Regions from separate parts of the Homo sapiens genome. Here region 1 is linked to region 2. Evidence: promoter capture Hi-C in human tissues and cell types (Jung and others, 2019). All regions are on one chromosome and are shown on one strand. The core of a region is centred on a gene start or on the middle of the fragment in contact, and the rest is flanking DNA. Distances in the headings are between cores, read along the strand shown.

The links. The method cuts DNA at HindIII sites, captures the fragments that hold promoters and counts their contacts. A contact is called where the count stands out against the background at its distance.
Region 1: a fragment that was not itself captured here is called in contact with the fragment with the promoter of EN2 in region 2 in 1 of the 25 tissues and cell types used here (spleen).

What each region holds. Positions count from the first base shown.
Region 1 is chr7:155,403,958-155,411,205 of GRCh38, reverse strand. No RefSeq gene overlaps it. Among named protein-coding and RNA genes, the nearest start is that of LINC03010, 26 kb to the right of the region's middle. RefSeq lists an enhancer at 1,970-2,692. The HindIII fragment of the contact is 8,046 bases long and covers 1,250-7,248 here.
Region 2 is chr7:155,454,686-155,461,500 of GRCh38, reverse strand. It overlaps EN2 (engrailed homeobox 2), which reads right to left and starts at 3,372. Exons shown (of 2, transcript NM_001427.4): 1 at 2,439-3,372. The coding sequence starts at 3,123. EN2-DT (EN2 divergent transcript) reads left to right here and starts at 4,383. Exons shown (of 3, transcript NR_186580.1): 1 at 4,383-4,511. RefSeq lists enhancers at 3,719-4,710, 6,634-6,815. The HindIII fragment of the contact is 19,554 bases long and covers 1-6,815 here.

The DNA of each region.
Region 1 (7,248 bases), core at 4,023-6,522, 52 kb after region 2:
CTGGCCCAAGAAGAGGGAGGAAACTTGGGGGTCTCTATTATTAGATGTTGGCAGAACAATGGCTTCCCCATGATGTCCATGATCAAATCCCTAGAACCTGTGGGTCTGTTGCCTTGTGTGGCCCGGGGGACTTTGCAGATGAGACTGAGGCCCTGGAGACAGGAGAGTGTCCTGGGTCTTTCCTAGCTAAGGCCAGGGGCAGGTGTGACTAGGAAAGATGGCCAGACAGAGGCAACTTTGCTGCCTGTGAAGATGGAGGAAGGGACCATGTGCTAAGGAATGTGGGCAACCCGAGAAGCTGGAAAAGGCAGGAAACTGTTCCCCTCCCAGAGCCTCCAGAAGGACCCAGCCTGGCCAACACCTTGACCTTAGCCCAGTGAGACCTGGGCCGGCCCTCTGGCCTCCGGGACTGTAAGGTAATGCATGCGTGCTGTTCCAAGCCACTAAGCTTGTAATTTGTTACAGCAGCCACAGGAAACTAGGAAACTGATACAATATGCAACAGGGCTTCCAGCCAGGAGCTATCCCCCAGTTGGCCAGGTCTGGAGAAGCGGGGGCTGCATTCCTATTCATGGTAATTACAAGAAGAAGGGCATCTGGCGAGGAATGTCATCTCCCCTAAGGCAATGCAACTTACAAGGACTAGCCTGCTTCTGGGACAGGGGAGCAGAGGGGATGGGTTACCCCTCAGATCTCTGCAGCCCTGCTTCCAGGAGAGATGCTATCTGAGCAATTTCCTCTGCATGGTGCGGTGCAGGTAAGTCATCAGCCAGGTGACGCAGGGCAGGAAGGGGAGACTTGACTCCGTGGCTTCAGACGCGGCCATCTGTGCATTCCTGCTGACCCTTGGCTCTCTCCTGACCCTTGGCTCTCTCCTTAGCATGGGAGCATGATCCCCGCGTCACCAGGCTGCTGGCTGGCCCAGGTGCAGGGTCCTCAGGGAGTCCCAAAGGGTGCGTGAAGTGGAGCCTGGGCATTGGAGCGTGGCCCCTCTCCAAGGATACCTGTGCGCCTGGACCAGGCCCGTCCTGCGCCCCCTCCCCGCGCCCCCTCCCCGCATGAGCGTGGGCAAGGCAGGGAAGCAGGTGGGGGATACAAAGGGTAAGCACATGCATGCATTCACACAACACACTCTTCTATACACACAGACACCTGCGCTCTCACATGCGTGCGCACACACCCTCACAAACACATTCACACACAGACACGCACAAGCACACACACAAGCACCGACACACTCACAAGCACAGGTACACTCACACACAGAGATACACTCACACAAGCACACACAAGTACACTCACACACAAGCACAGACACGCAAGCACACTCAGACACACGTGCAGACACACAAGCACACACACACCATCCTGAAACCATTTCAAAGTCACTGAACCACCCGGACTGCCACTCAAAGCTATGGCCTGATGGCTCTGAGCAACCGAGTCCGCTTGGGTTTCGTTCTTGATCTTTTCAAATGAAACCCCTGCACCCTGGGAGTCTGTCTGTGCGGCTCCTGGCCCCTGGCTGAGGTGCTGAGCAAACACCAACCAGGTGAGAGCCAGGTGAGCACAGCCTCGGGAGGAGGGACTCTGCGGATACTGGGGGCCAGGCTAGGAGGGGGCAGCCCCGTGAGCCCACAGCCCGCCTCGCGTGCTGCGCTCTGCATCCCCCAGGAGACGTGCCCCCACCAGTGTCTCATGGCACAGAAGCGGCGGCAGAGGCTGGGACACGGTGGCCCCCTTGCTGCAGGGCGCTGCCTGTTGGTGGCCACGCAGGGCTTGCAGGGTGTCCTCCACCCTCCCTCAAATCCCTGTGACTGCCCAGTGCTTCTCTCTGAAGGGCTGCTCTGTTCACCCTTCCTGTCTGCTGTGGAAGTCCAGCACAACACGTCAAGTGCACAACATCACGAAAGTCTGCCTGCGCGCCCACCTACCCATGACCTGGACCTAGATCCAGCTGTTCCCCTCGGCAGGCCGGCTGCCCTCCGGCCTCGGCAGTCAGTTCCCTTCCCCACTGCGGCCAGGACTCCACAGCTGCGCCACAGACAAGCTTTGACAGCCGTGAGCGGCACTATGGGTTAGCGTGAAGGCAGTAGGGGGTTCCTGCCCCACCCCAAGGAATTCCCCGCCGTAGGTGCCACTGTGTCTGGAACTTCACTATTACACACTCATTCCTTTAGGCGATTTCTCCTTTATTCCCAGGAGGTACAGCAGGTCAAGAACATCTACACTAAGGGGTTGACAACTGTCAGGTCCCGAGGGGCGCCGGGCCAGGCAAGGAGACGGTGGCTGGGGCGGGAAGAAGCAGAGAGCCCTGGAGGGAAGGTGGAGCCGTCGCTGCTCTCTCCAGCTCAGGGTGGCCTGCCACACTCCCACACCGCACACTCCCATAACCCACACTCCCACACCACACATACCCACACCCGACACTCCCACACCCGACACACCCACACCTCAAACTCCCACACCGGACACTCCCACACCCCACACTCCCACACCCCACACTCCCATAACCAACACTCCCACACCACACACACCCACACCCCACACTCCCACACACCACACTCCCACACCCCACACCCCACACTCCCCACCCCACACTCCCATAACCAACACTCCCACACCCCACACTCCCACACCCCACACTCCCACACCCCACACTCCCACACACCACACTCCCACACACCACACTCCCACACACCACACTCCCACACCTCAAACTCCCACACCCCACACTCCCACACCCCACACTACCAAACCACACACTCCCACACCCCACACCCCACACTCCCACGCCCCACTCTCACACTCCTACACTCCACACTCCTACACCCTACACTCCCACACCCCACACTCCCACACCTGACACTCCAACAACCCACACTCCCACACCCCACACTCCCAAACCCCACACTCCCACACCCCACACTCCACACTCCCACACCCCACACTCCCACGCCCCACTCTCACACTCCTACTCCCACACCCACACTCACACTCTCACACTCCCACACCCCACACTCCCACATTCTCACACCCCACACTCCAACACCCCACACTCCCACACCCCATACTCCACACTCCACACTCACACACTCCACACTCCCACACCCCACATTCTCACTCACCACACTCGCACATCCCACACTCTCAAACCCCACACTCTCACACCCCACACTCCCACACCCAATCTGACACCCCACATTCTCACACCCCACACTCACCCCACACTCTCACACCCCACACTCCCACACTCTCACACTCCCACACCCGACACTCTCACACCCCACACTCCCACACCCCACATTCCCACACCCCCCCACAAACACAACACTCACACCCCACATTCACACACCCCACACTCCCACACCCCACACACTCATACCCCACACTCCCACACCCCACATTCCACACTCTCACACCCCACATCCTGCACTCCCAAACCCCACACTCCCGCACCCCGTACCCCACACTCCACACACACTCCACACTCCCACACACCACACCCCACACCCCACACTCCCACACTCTCACACCCCACACTCCCACACCCCATACCCCACACTCCACACTCACACACTGCACACTCCCACACCCCACACTCTCACACACCACATTCACACACCCCACACTCACACCCCACACTCCCACACCTCACATTCTCACATCCCACACTCCCACACCCCACACTCTCACACCCCACACTCTCACATCCCACACCCCATACTCCCACACCCGACACACGCACACCTCAAACTCCCACACCCCACACTCTCACACCCCACACTCTCACATCCCACACCCCATACTCCCACACCCGACACACGCACACCTCAAACTCCCACACCCCACACTCTCACACCCCACACTCTCACACCCCACACTCTCACACCCCGCACTCCACACCCCGCACTCCACACCCCACACTCCACACCCCACACCCCACACTCCCACAGCCCACACTCCCACACCCCACACTCTCACACCCCACACTCCCACACCGCACACTCCCACACCCCACACTCCACACCCCGCACTCCACACCCCACACTCCACACCCCACACCCCACACTCCCACAGCCCACACTCCCACACCCCACACTCCCACACCCCACACTCCCACACCCCACACTCCCACACCCCACACTCCCACAGCCCACACTCTCACACCCCACACTCTCACAGTCCACACTCTCACACCCCACACTCCCACACCCCACACTCTCACACCCCACACTCCCACACCCCCACACTCTCACACCCCACACTCTCACACCCCACACTCTCACACTCCACACTCTCACACCGCCGCTGCTCCTCTCAGAAAGTGCCTGGCGGCATTGGCTCTGGGTCTGGGGCCGGTCTCTTCATAACCGCAGCCCCCAGAAGAAATGAAGACTCATCCCTGGAGCCAACACACCTTAAAGCCGTAAACACTGGACCGAGACCACTTGCATTTGAACCCCAGCTCTACCGCGGGTGAGCTGTGTGACCTTGACTGAGCGTCTTAACATCTCCCCACCCCGGTTTCCACATTTTTGAAAGGGTGACAACAATAATACCCACCTCATGGGGTGGTTTCAAAGATTAATTTAGTTAATATTTATCAATCACGCAGCAACATGCCTGGTTCGGGGTAAGCGCTCTATCTGCGTTTGTGAAACGAGTTAAAGGAAATGGCGCTATCATAGCACAGTCAGGCATTTGATTCTTTCCTTCTGATCTTTGATGTTCCATGTATACAACCAGGAATTTTTACATGCATAATTGCCTGGGAATTTCAACTGCATATGGTAGCACTTTCTGCTTTCAAACCATTTCTGAGGTGGTCTGTAGGCCCCCAGTTCTGCTAGATGCTTTCACAAGTAAACACTGAGAAGAATGCCTGATCCCTGCCCTCAGAGAGGTTGGTGGATTTGGGAAGACAAGAAGAATCCACATGGTTCAGGAGGAAAACCTGTGGAGAAGCCTGTAATGAGGAGCAAAACTGTGTGCAGCCGAGCGGAGGGGCGGGCATGGTTGAAGTGGGGCCAGGCAGCAGCCATGGTGGGGGTGACAAGAACCACAGCCGCTTCCTGCTGGGGCGTCCTGTGGGCTTCACGAATGCCACCACCTAGATGAGGACACGAAGGCTCAGAAAGGTCACACAAGACACACGGCTCACAGTGGGGAGGTGGGGCCTTCTGCCCATCACCTGCTCGGCAGCCCTGGTCCTTAAAGAACGCTCCGGTGAGGGGATCCGCATGGCCCGGCTGAGCTGGAGTGTGGACTCCTGGAGACGGTCCAACCGGACGGGGAATGTGTCAGGAGGAAGGAGCTGCTGGGAGGCCAGGAGCTGCTGGCAGTTCCCACCCTGCCCGGGTAGCACAGGCCCCCACAGGCTGTGGGCGGGAGATGCTGAGGGTTTTTTGAGCCAAGGGGCTCTGGAGGAAGGCAGAGGCCCAGAGCCACTGGCACCTCTGAGCAGGGGTGACTGGGGCGAGGACTGAGTCTGGGGTCCTGTAACCAGTCGAGTCGTACTGGGCGAGCCGAGGGGACCGTGCCTCAGCACACAGGTGGAGGGTTCGGGGGCAGCCTGTGGCTCTCCCAGGGACCGGCTGCGTCTCCCCTTCTAGCTCTGCCCTCTGCTGTGTGTCTCGCAAACACCACCCCGTGGACTGTGAAAAAAAGATTTCAGAAACTGGGAGAATTGCTGTCAGGCTTCCAAGCCAGCAGCACAGAAAAGGCAGAAAGACACCAGGACGGTTCTCTCGAACTCAGTTTAAATATGGAGGGATTTTGTCATTTTTTTAAACAAGAAAATCTTGTTTGATATTCTCTTTCTAATTGATTCTTCATATTTTCCTTTAAAAAATATTTCAAGCAGCTGTTTCCTGATAGGAGAGAAGCAGGGAACTGACACCCACAAATTCCTCCGGGCGGTGGTGCTGGGGCCGGGGCAGCGGGGCAGGTGACCCCAGGCGCAGGACGCTCACCTATGCTGCCTCAGCAAGTCGGGTGGGCTTGAATCCCCCTTCCAGGGCCGCAGCCTGCAGAGCCACCTCCTCACAAGACCACAAGCAGGCCTGGGCAGGCACCAGACGGGGAGACGGGAATGCTGGCCCTGAGCTCAGCCCTTGACCCGGTGGTGGGGCCACAGGTGCCATGTAACGATGATGGGTACCACTTGGGGATGAAGGCGGGGGCCTGTGCCAACTGACTTCTGACCCACAGGAGCCCTCTCCACAGCGTGAGTGGGGACGGGACCAGGTGGCAGCACCTCCCGGGATGGGCTCTGGTCCTGGCACCTCCCTGGGCGAGTGCTGGGCCTGCTTCCTCCCCTGCCCAGTGGAGAAGAGAGCAGCCGCCCTGGGGGAGCTGTTCTGGGGAGAGGGCAAAAAAGGGACAGGGAAGGCTTTGAAGGGGATGCTGGTGCAGTCCCTCAGGCGCCCCACCTCTCAGGAAGATGGGCCCCGCTGGGGGGCCCGTGGTGTGGAGGCCACGCTGCTGCCCGGGCTGAGGGACCCGAACCTGCAGGCCCCAGAAAATAAAAGGGTGGAGTCACCCACCTCCAGCCTGGGGCTGCACCAGCCCAATCCCCAGCCCCAGCAGGGGCTGCCCACCTCCAACTTCCCCACCCCATGGCCCTCCTCCTGCTGTCGTCTCCCCATCATAGTTCCTGCACCACACGTCTCTGGAACCGTATAAAGTTATGCGTCTGAGTGGCTGACAGCAGCCTCCAGGCTAAACTTTTGATCCGCTGTGTGCTGACATCTTCAAACCAGAGCGGGTCTCTCCCTCTCTGTTCCTGGGTTGGCGGTGGCAGGTCTCCTGCAGTATATGGCATGCAAATAAGCAGGTCTGCGCTGTCACTCCCTAGCTGCCAGACCCCTGCCTGGTGCCTGGAGGTGGCTGTCCCTCCAGCCACCTCCAGCAGCGAGGCCAGAGCCCTAGGCTGCTCCCCACCCCTTTGTTTCCTTCTGGGAGGTGCTGGTGACCGAGGCTCAGGAGGGCACCTGCCCCTAGGAAGGGGCTCCCCCAGGGATCCCCGCAGTAGAGAGGGGGCCACTGAGGGGTGGGTGGGCAGTGGCTGGGGGCTGCCTGCATGGACTGAGCTTCCTCCCAGGCTCAACCCCCACCCCCCATCAAATCCACCTGACTCGCAGAGGCTGTTAGAACTGGGGGGCTGTGAATCTGGCCACCTGGCCTGGTCCCATAGCTAAGGTTCAGTGGGAGTCTCAGCCCCAGCTCCTGGCATGGGGTAGCTCA
Region 2 (6,815 bases), core at 2,123-4,622:
CTTATGAACCTGACCTGGCCTTCTCCCTGTGGACCTGCCCCAGGTTTTGGACAGGGTCGCTGTAAGGCTTCTAGGACCTGCTATCCATGGGGAAAGGGCAGAGGGAGGAGAGCAGAAGGAGGGAAGTGTCATCAGTTTCTTTTTGGTGATAAGAGGCTCAACCCCCTGGCGTTCCCTGTGGGGGAAGAAGGGGGCAAGGCCACTGGCAGGGAGTGGTGACCTCGCCTCTGGGTTTCAATTTGTGCGGTGTATGAATCGGCTTTAGGGAGCATCTGGCCCCAGCTTCATCACAGGTCCCTGTGGCTGGAGAAGGCTGGGGGCCCCCCACCCTTCAGGGCCGGAGAGCTGCCGGGCACACTGAGGAGAAGAGGAATGTGGATCTCCTTGGAGGCCCTGGGACTGCACCCTGCCCAGGTCAGGAGAGTCAACTAGGGTGCTGGGGCTGTGCCCAGCAAGAGGTGGGGGACGAACTGGAGGCCCAGGGTGAATGCCAAGCACTCCCTCATGGCCAAGTGAGTCTTGTGCTCTCTCCAGGAGACAGGCCTGGAGAAAGAGGATCTGTGGGCACCACCTCAGGAGCACCAAGGGCAGCTTTTAAAGCAACCCATAGGCAGGCTCACCACCCATGAGAGCACACACCCTATACTTGGGCACCCACCCCATGCACACGTACACACTCAGTGCCTGTCTTGCTCACGCCCAGGGCTCCAGGCCAGTGGGCCTGGCTTTGGTAGGGGTAGGTGCAGATTTGGAGATGGGGTTGGCCCTCCGGAACGGTGGTGGGGGATGGGGCACAAGGCTCCAGGAGAGGCCCCAGCCTCCTGCTCCCAGAGCCCATCTCTGTCTGGGTTTCCAACCACTCCCTTCCCCAGAACTCTACCCCCAAACTCTTCTGGTCCTGGGGCTCTTGTTAATGCACTCATGAAGCAGCCCGCAAAAGGACACCATTTTATGGCAATAAATTTCCCTAAAATAATAATTTTTAGGTTTTTTTCTTGATTTTCTTTCAAAAGACAAATACTTAGGAGTCTCAGAAACAGAATCAAACCTCCCCAAGAAAACTCTCTCTCCCCTTTCTTTCGGAGAAACCAAAGAACAGAAACATTATCTTGCAGGGATATTTTAAAGCCCATGAAGATAGGCGACTTGGGCTGGGCTGAGCTGGGCCGGGCCAGGCCGGGCCGGGCGGTGCTGCCCAGCTCCCGGGCCGTTGGGGGCTGGCTCAGCGAACTCCCGCGCCGCACAAAGCCCGGCCGAGTCTCCTCGCCCGGCATTGTGAGCCTGTATGTTAATTAAATATTAACAAAGGAGGAAGACGAGAACAATGGAGCAAATTTCAGATCTAGCTGAGAAATCTGAATTTCATCAGAAATATGCACGCATAGTTCTGCGGGATGGCGGCCCAAGGGTTGGCTCACTCCTGCTGTGATCTGGGCAAATGACCCCCGCAAAATAGTTGAGGGTTTGGGGGCAGCGGGGATCCGCTGCCAGCTCGGGGTCAAACAGTCCACTTCTAATGGCGGTTCCCAGCCGCAGACCCGCATGGAATGCAGTTGATGATTTCTACAAGGACATGGACTTAGTTTTTTAAAATCGCAGATCTATGAAAAAATATATCCAGCATCTCTGCAGGGCCCCTGCGAATGCTGCCTCTTTCCCATCAGCAGCCCCCAGGAAACCCTGAGAGAAGGTCCTTTCTATTTGGGGATGGCAGGTGCCGGGAGGGACGGCTGCCTCCCTTGTCCTCGCTGTGTGCAGGAAGGGGGCTGAGCCCCACCACTGCGGGCTGGCGCTGGCAAACAAAGTGGAGCCAAGGGGAAAGGGCGCCTTTATTTTCCTCCTTCCCTGTGTGCATCCTCCTGAGTCCCACCGGTCAGCGCAGGCCCGAGGGGCAGAAGGCAGAGCGGCAAAGGGCCTCGCCTTTTCTTCCCCGAGCACAGCCGGGATAACCGGATGGTAGGACAAGTCTGGGGTGGGCTGGGGCATGCGTCCCCGGCCTGGCCTGAGTTGGAAGATCGTAGGGAAGGGGATGAGAGTGTGCACTTCCGGGCCCATCTTCCAGCCACCACGTTCCCACCAAAAAAAACTACAGTGGGGGAGACATGGGCTAGGGGCTGGGAAGAGATGCGCCAAGGCGGGGTGGAAGACAGAGAGGGGAGACAGGGAGAGAGGAAGGAGAGAGAGAGACAGAGAAAGAAAGAAGGTCCCTTCTGCGGTCCTAAGAAGTCTGTACCCCCTAGCGAATCAGTCCTGCCGCTGGACTCCTGGCCGCTGCCCGGGCCGGCGTCAGCTTCACACAATGTCGCGTGAGTCTTTGTGCGTGTGCGCGGGGGAGGTTCGAGATGTTTTCCTCCCGGTAAGTTCCCGCGCCAGCACCGCCCCCCAGCTCCGCGGGCCTCCCCGCGGCGAGCCGGGACGCGTGGTCCCCGCGGGCTCACCTGAAGAAGGCCGGTCCGAGTAGCGCGTACAGTAGACCCACGCCGGCCAGAGCATGGGCTGCGCGCCCAGGTTGGCGCCGGCTTGCGAGCTGTCCGAGTCCGAGCTCACCGACAGGTCGCCGCCGCCCAAGCCGCGGGCCTTGAGCGACCCGTCCAGGGGGCCGCCGGGGTCGCCGCCTTTCTTGGCGCCACCGTGCAGCGAGAGCGTCTTGGAGCCGCCTTCCCCGTCACCCGGAGAGTCGCTGCCGGCGGCTGGGAGCGGCCCGCCCGCGCCGGGCGCACATGGCGGGTTCTGCCGGGGCTCTCGGGAGCCCGAGCCCAAGAGCTGCTCCGAGCCGCCCGCGCCGCCGCCTCCCTCCGCACCGCTCGCGCCGCCTTCGCCGCCGGCTCCGCCGCCCCTTCCTCCTCCCGCGCCCGCACAGCAGGTCCCCGCGTCCTTTCGCCGGCCGAACTCGGGCCGCAGGATGTTGTCGATGAAGAAGTTGGTGATGCGGTGCGGGTGCTGGTGGTTGCCGGGCGCCTGCAGGACCGCGGGCAGCATCAGAGCCCGCCGGCGCCCGGTGTCCGCTTCGCCCGGGCTGCTACCGCCGCCGCCGCCCGAGCCGCCGCCGGGGCTGGATTCCGGCTGCCGCTGTCCCTCCACCGCCGCCGCTGCTTCGCCAGGCTTGGGGTCATTCTCCTCCATGCTGTTCACAGTAAATCCCACACTGGTTCTCCGGGGACGCCCTTCCAAATCAGCCTTCGGCCCTCCCGCGGCGCACACGGAGACCCCCGCGCCCCCACCCCGCCGAGTCTTCCGAGGGCGTGCGCGGCGGCCGCGGCCAGGGCTGAGGTCCTACAAGTCGCCGGCCGCGCTCGGCGCGGAGCCACCTTTGAATCCACGAACTGGGTTAGAAACACCACGAGCCGCCCCGCTCGCCCAGACGATGAGAGATTCAACAGAGCCAAGTCCTCGACTTCGCCGCGCAGCCGGGGTCTAGACAGTCGCAGTGGTCCGGCGGGGACGCGGGCCGCCTCCCGGGCTCCCCGCTCCTCTCCGCGTCCGGCCGCCTCGGGCTCCGGCGCCGCCGCCTGGGCCGCCCGGGGCGAGAGCTGCGCGCATGCAGGCAGCGCGTTCCCCGGCGCTCACGCCCGCCCGGGCCGGCTCCGGCCGCCGCCGCCGCCCGGCCGTCCCCGCCCGCACGCCCTAGCCGGCCCTCGAGGGTGCCGGGCGCCCGCGGTCAGCGCGCCCGCCACCGCCCGCACGCACATGGAGGCCCCCTCCTCGCGGCCGCCGCCCCGCTGCGGGCCGGGGCGCCCCACCGGCGTGCGGCCGCGCCCCCGCCGAGCCCCGCAGAGCTCCGCGGCCCGAGTCGCATGGGTGAGAGACGCGAGGCCAGGGCCCGGCCGGGCCGGGCTGGGCCGCCCGCGCTCCCCGGCCGTCCGCCGCCCTCGCCGCCTCGGCCTCCGCGCGGGCTCGGAAATTTCCAGGCCACTCGGCGCAACCTGAGACACTTTCACTCTGGATTTTTGTTCTTATTTTTAACAGAGCCCCCTCGAGTGACGTCGCAGGCCGGTCTCCTGGACACGTGCCTCGGGCCAATGGCCGCGGCGCCGCGCGCCCACGTGACGCTCCGGCCGCCGCTGGGTGACAGGAGCAGCCCGCCGCCCCTCCTCCCCTTAAAGCGGCCGCGTCCCCCGCTCCGGGTGCGGGAGCCCAGGAACCCGGAGAGACCCCCGACCGCGTCTCCTGCGCTCGCCCGCGCTTTCCCTGTCGCTTCGCGGTTCAGGGGTGTGAGTCACCCGGCGACAGCCCCGCCAGGTCACCCCGGGGCGCGTAGGTGGACACGCACAGGAAGATCGCTATTTTTAAGATTTCCATATTGTTTACCGTGGGGCGAAATCCCACAATTCCTTGCACAAAATGCATAAATAATATTAAATGAGCTGCCGAGATACAAAGGGACTTTTGTGGTCCGCTTTCCTTGCTGATGGAGAGGAATAGTGTCACTCCCATTTGACTCGGTAACCCGGCAGCTTCCTGTCTTAAACGCAGAGCTGGCGCGCAGGACACTCCTCCTGCAGACACTTATTGTAAGTGTGCGTGTGTGTGCGTGTGCAGGGAGGCGCGTGCATACGGCCGCATTCCACCCGGGGACAGCGACCCTCATGAAACATGCTTAGCGATCCGAAAGAGCGGGGGAATGCAGTATGCGGCTCCATTTGCGAAGGGAGAAATCCAGGAGCCTCGGAGGTTCTAAAGGAATCCTTTTTGCCAAGGAGAGGAGGGGTGACTGTTCAGCTAAGACTTCAAAACCAAGTCGCCCGCCCCCCTCTAACTTCTCTACTCTGATTGAGGAGCTCCCAGACCGGTCATCTCGTTTTCTTTGTTTTAAAATCCTTTAAACTAATTTTGCCGGAGAGCAGGGCCCATTTGAAACGAGAATTAGGAATCCAACGGCAAGGGTGGGAGCCCCAGTTGGTTTCTCCCCTCCTCTCTCTTCATCTTTTCTAGACTTTCCTTCCAGCTGTTGTCAGAATGTCCAACTGGAAGTTCTGTTTCCTCTTCTCTTCCCCCTCCTCCCTCGGGCTCCTTCCCATTTGCTCTTGTCTACCCACCAAACACCCGTTGTTACCCCAGGCTCGCCTGTCCATCATTTAAAATGCATTTTTATGGAAATGTGTGAATTCCTGGAAACATCCGATAGGGCAGCTCTGGGGGTGCGGGAGCATTTGCACGCCATGAGTACCCTCAGTGCGGGGGAGGCGGGGAGGCCGCAGCCTGGCACGGACACCCTAGGGCTGATTGGCCCTGGGCAGCTGCACCGTGCTCAGCAACCCAGACCCCCGCAGAGGCAGCCAGCAGGTTGCTGCCAGGCCCTGAGTGAACTTGGGGAGTCTGGCAAGCATCTCCGAGGCAGCGTGGCCTGCCAGGCCACCTGGGGCCTGAAGGTTGCACCCTGGCCTTGCGAAGCTCCTTCCCCAGTGTCCATCCCACGTGCTGTCCTTCCCCTGCAGGCTTCAGAGTGCTGGCTGGGCTGGGATGAGAAACGACAGTTCCCACAGCTGCTCCCAGGAAAATTACCCCCCCACCCAGGACGGGAATGGTGGGGGAGGAGGTGCTGGGCTGGCCTCCTGGCCACTGGACGTGGCTCTGGTCAGAGTGTGCCCTCTGTCCGGTGTGTCTAGGGCAGGGTGGGGAAGCCTCTTCTCGCTGGGGCTGGATTCCTCCACTTTTTCTTCATTGGAGGAGTCCTTACCAAATGTTCTGGCTAGGCACACATCTGCCAGGGGTCCTCCCCGAGTCTCAAAAAATCAAACCCCACAGTCTACCTGCCCCCCGGGAAAATAGGGCTGGTGAGAGTTTGTGGGAAGTCTTATTGACGCTTACTTGGTTTTTTGGGGGGAGAATTTTCTGCAACTCTGGAAACTCTGATGATCACCAGTCAGGAAAGGGAGGGTCCAACGACTCTGGGTCTCCTGAACATGATATTGGGGGGAGGAGGGGCCCTGAGCTCTTTGGTTCCTGCAAAACCATCCCAGGTTAATGGCTCCACCTGTCCCATGAAAGCCAATTAGGCGGCTTCCTGAGAAGTATTTTCTGAATTCTTGGGACTCTTTGCCTCTGACTGCCTCAGTATAAATGGCCCCAAGACGCTGGGCTTCAGCCCTGTGCTTTCCTGCGACCCAGACCCCAATTCGTGGCTGCAACAGAGACTCTGGGAAGCAGAGCGTCACCTCCAGGGCGCCTGGCGGGCCGGTGGGCAGAGACCTGCCCTCGCAGGGTCTGCGGGCTGGGCCCTGGGGTTGGCTGGAGGAAGAGGAATTCGTGGGTCGCTCTCCTGGAAAGGAGGAAGGTGAGAGGTGGAGGGAGGAATAGGAGAAAGAGAAATAAATGAAGAGAGAGATAACTAGAGGGTACCGGGCCCCCCAGAGTGGACCCAAACACGAAACAACTCTGGGAAAGCGGTAAGAGGGGTCACCGTTCAAAGGGCCGGGGAAGCTGGGATGGGGCTGCAGAAAGTTGAGCTGCCCAGGGGCTGGGCGGTGCTGAGTTCTATACACACGGAACTCCGCAAGGTGTTTCAGGAAGCTTCGAGAAGCGCGCATGAGGACCGGCCTCGGCCGCCTGCCCCAGCTGGGACGGCGCCTCGCGCTTTCTGGGGATGCGGGGCAGTGGCGTGTCTCTCCTCTGCGATGCCAGCCCCGGCTGCCGCGCTCCCGCGAGCCCAGAGCCTCCGCTTTCTCCCCCGAACGACCGCCGCCCTCAAGGTCGGCCTTTCTGTGCGGATCAGACGAGCCCTCTCCGGACATTAGTTTCTCCCGGGATGGAAAGTGGGGCACTGACCCGGGAACCCCGTTTTCCCTCTAGCTTCACCCAGGAATCGGAGAGCGCCC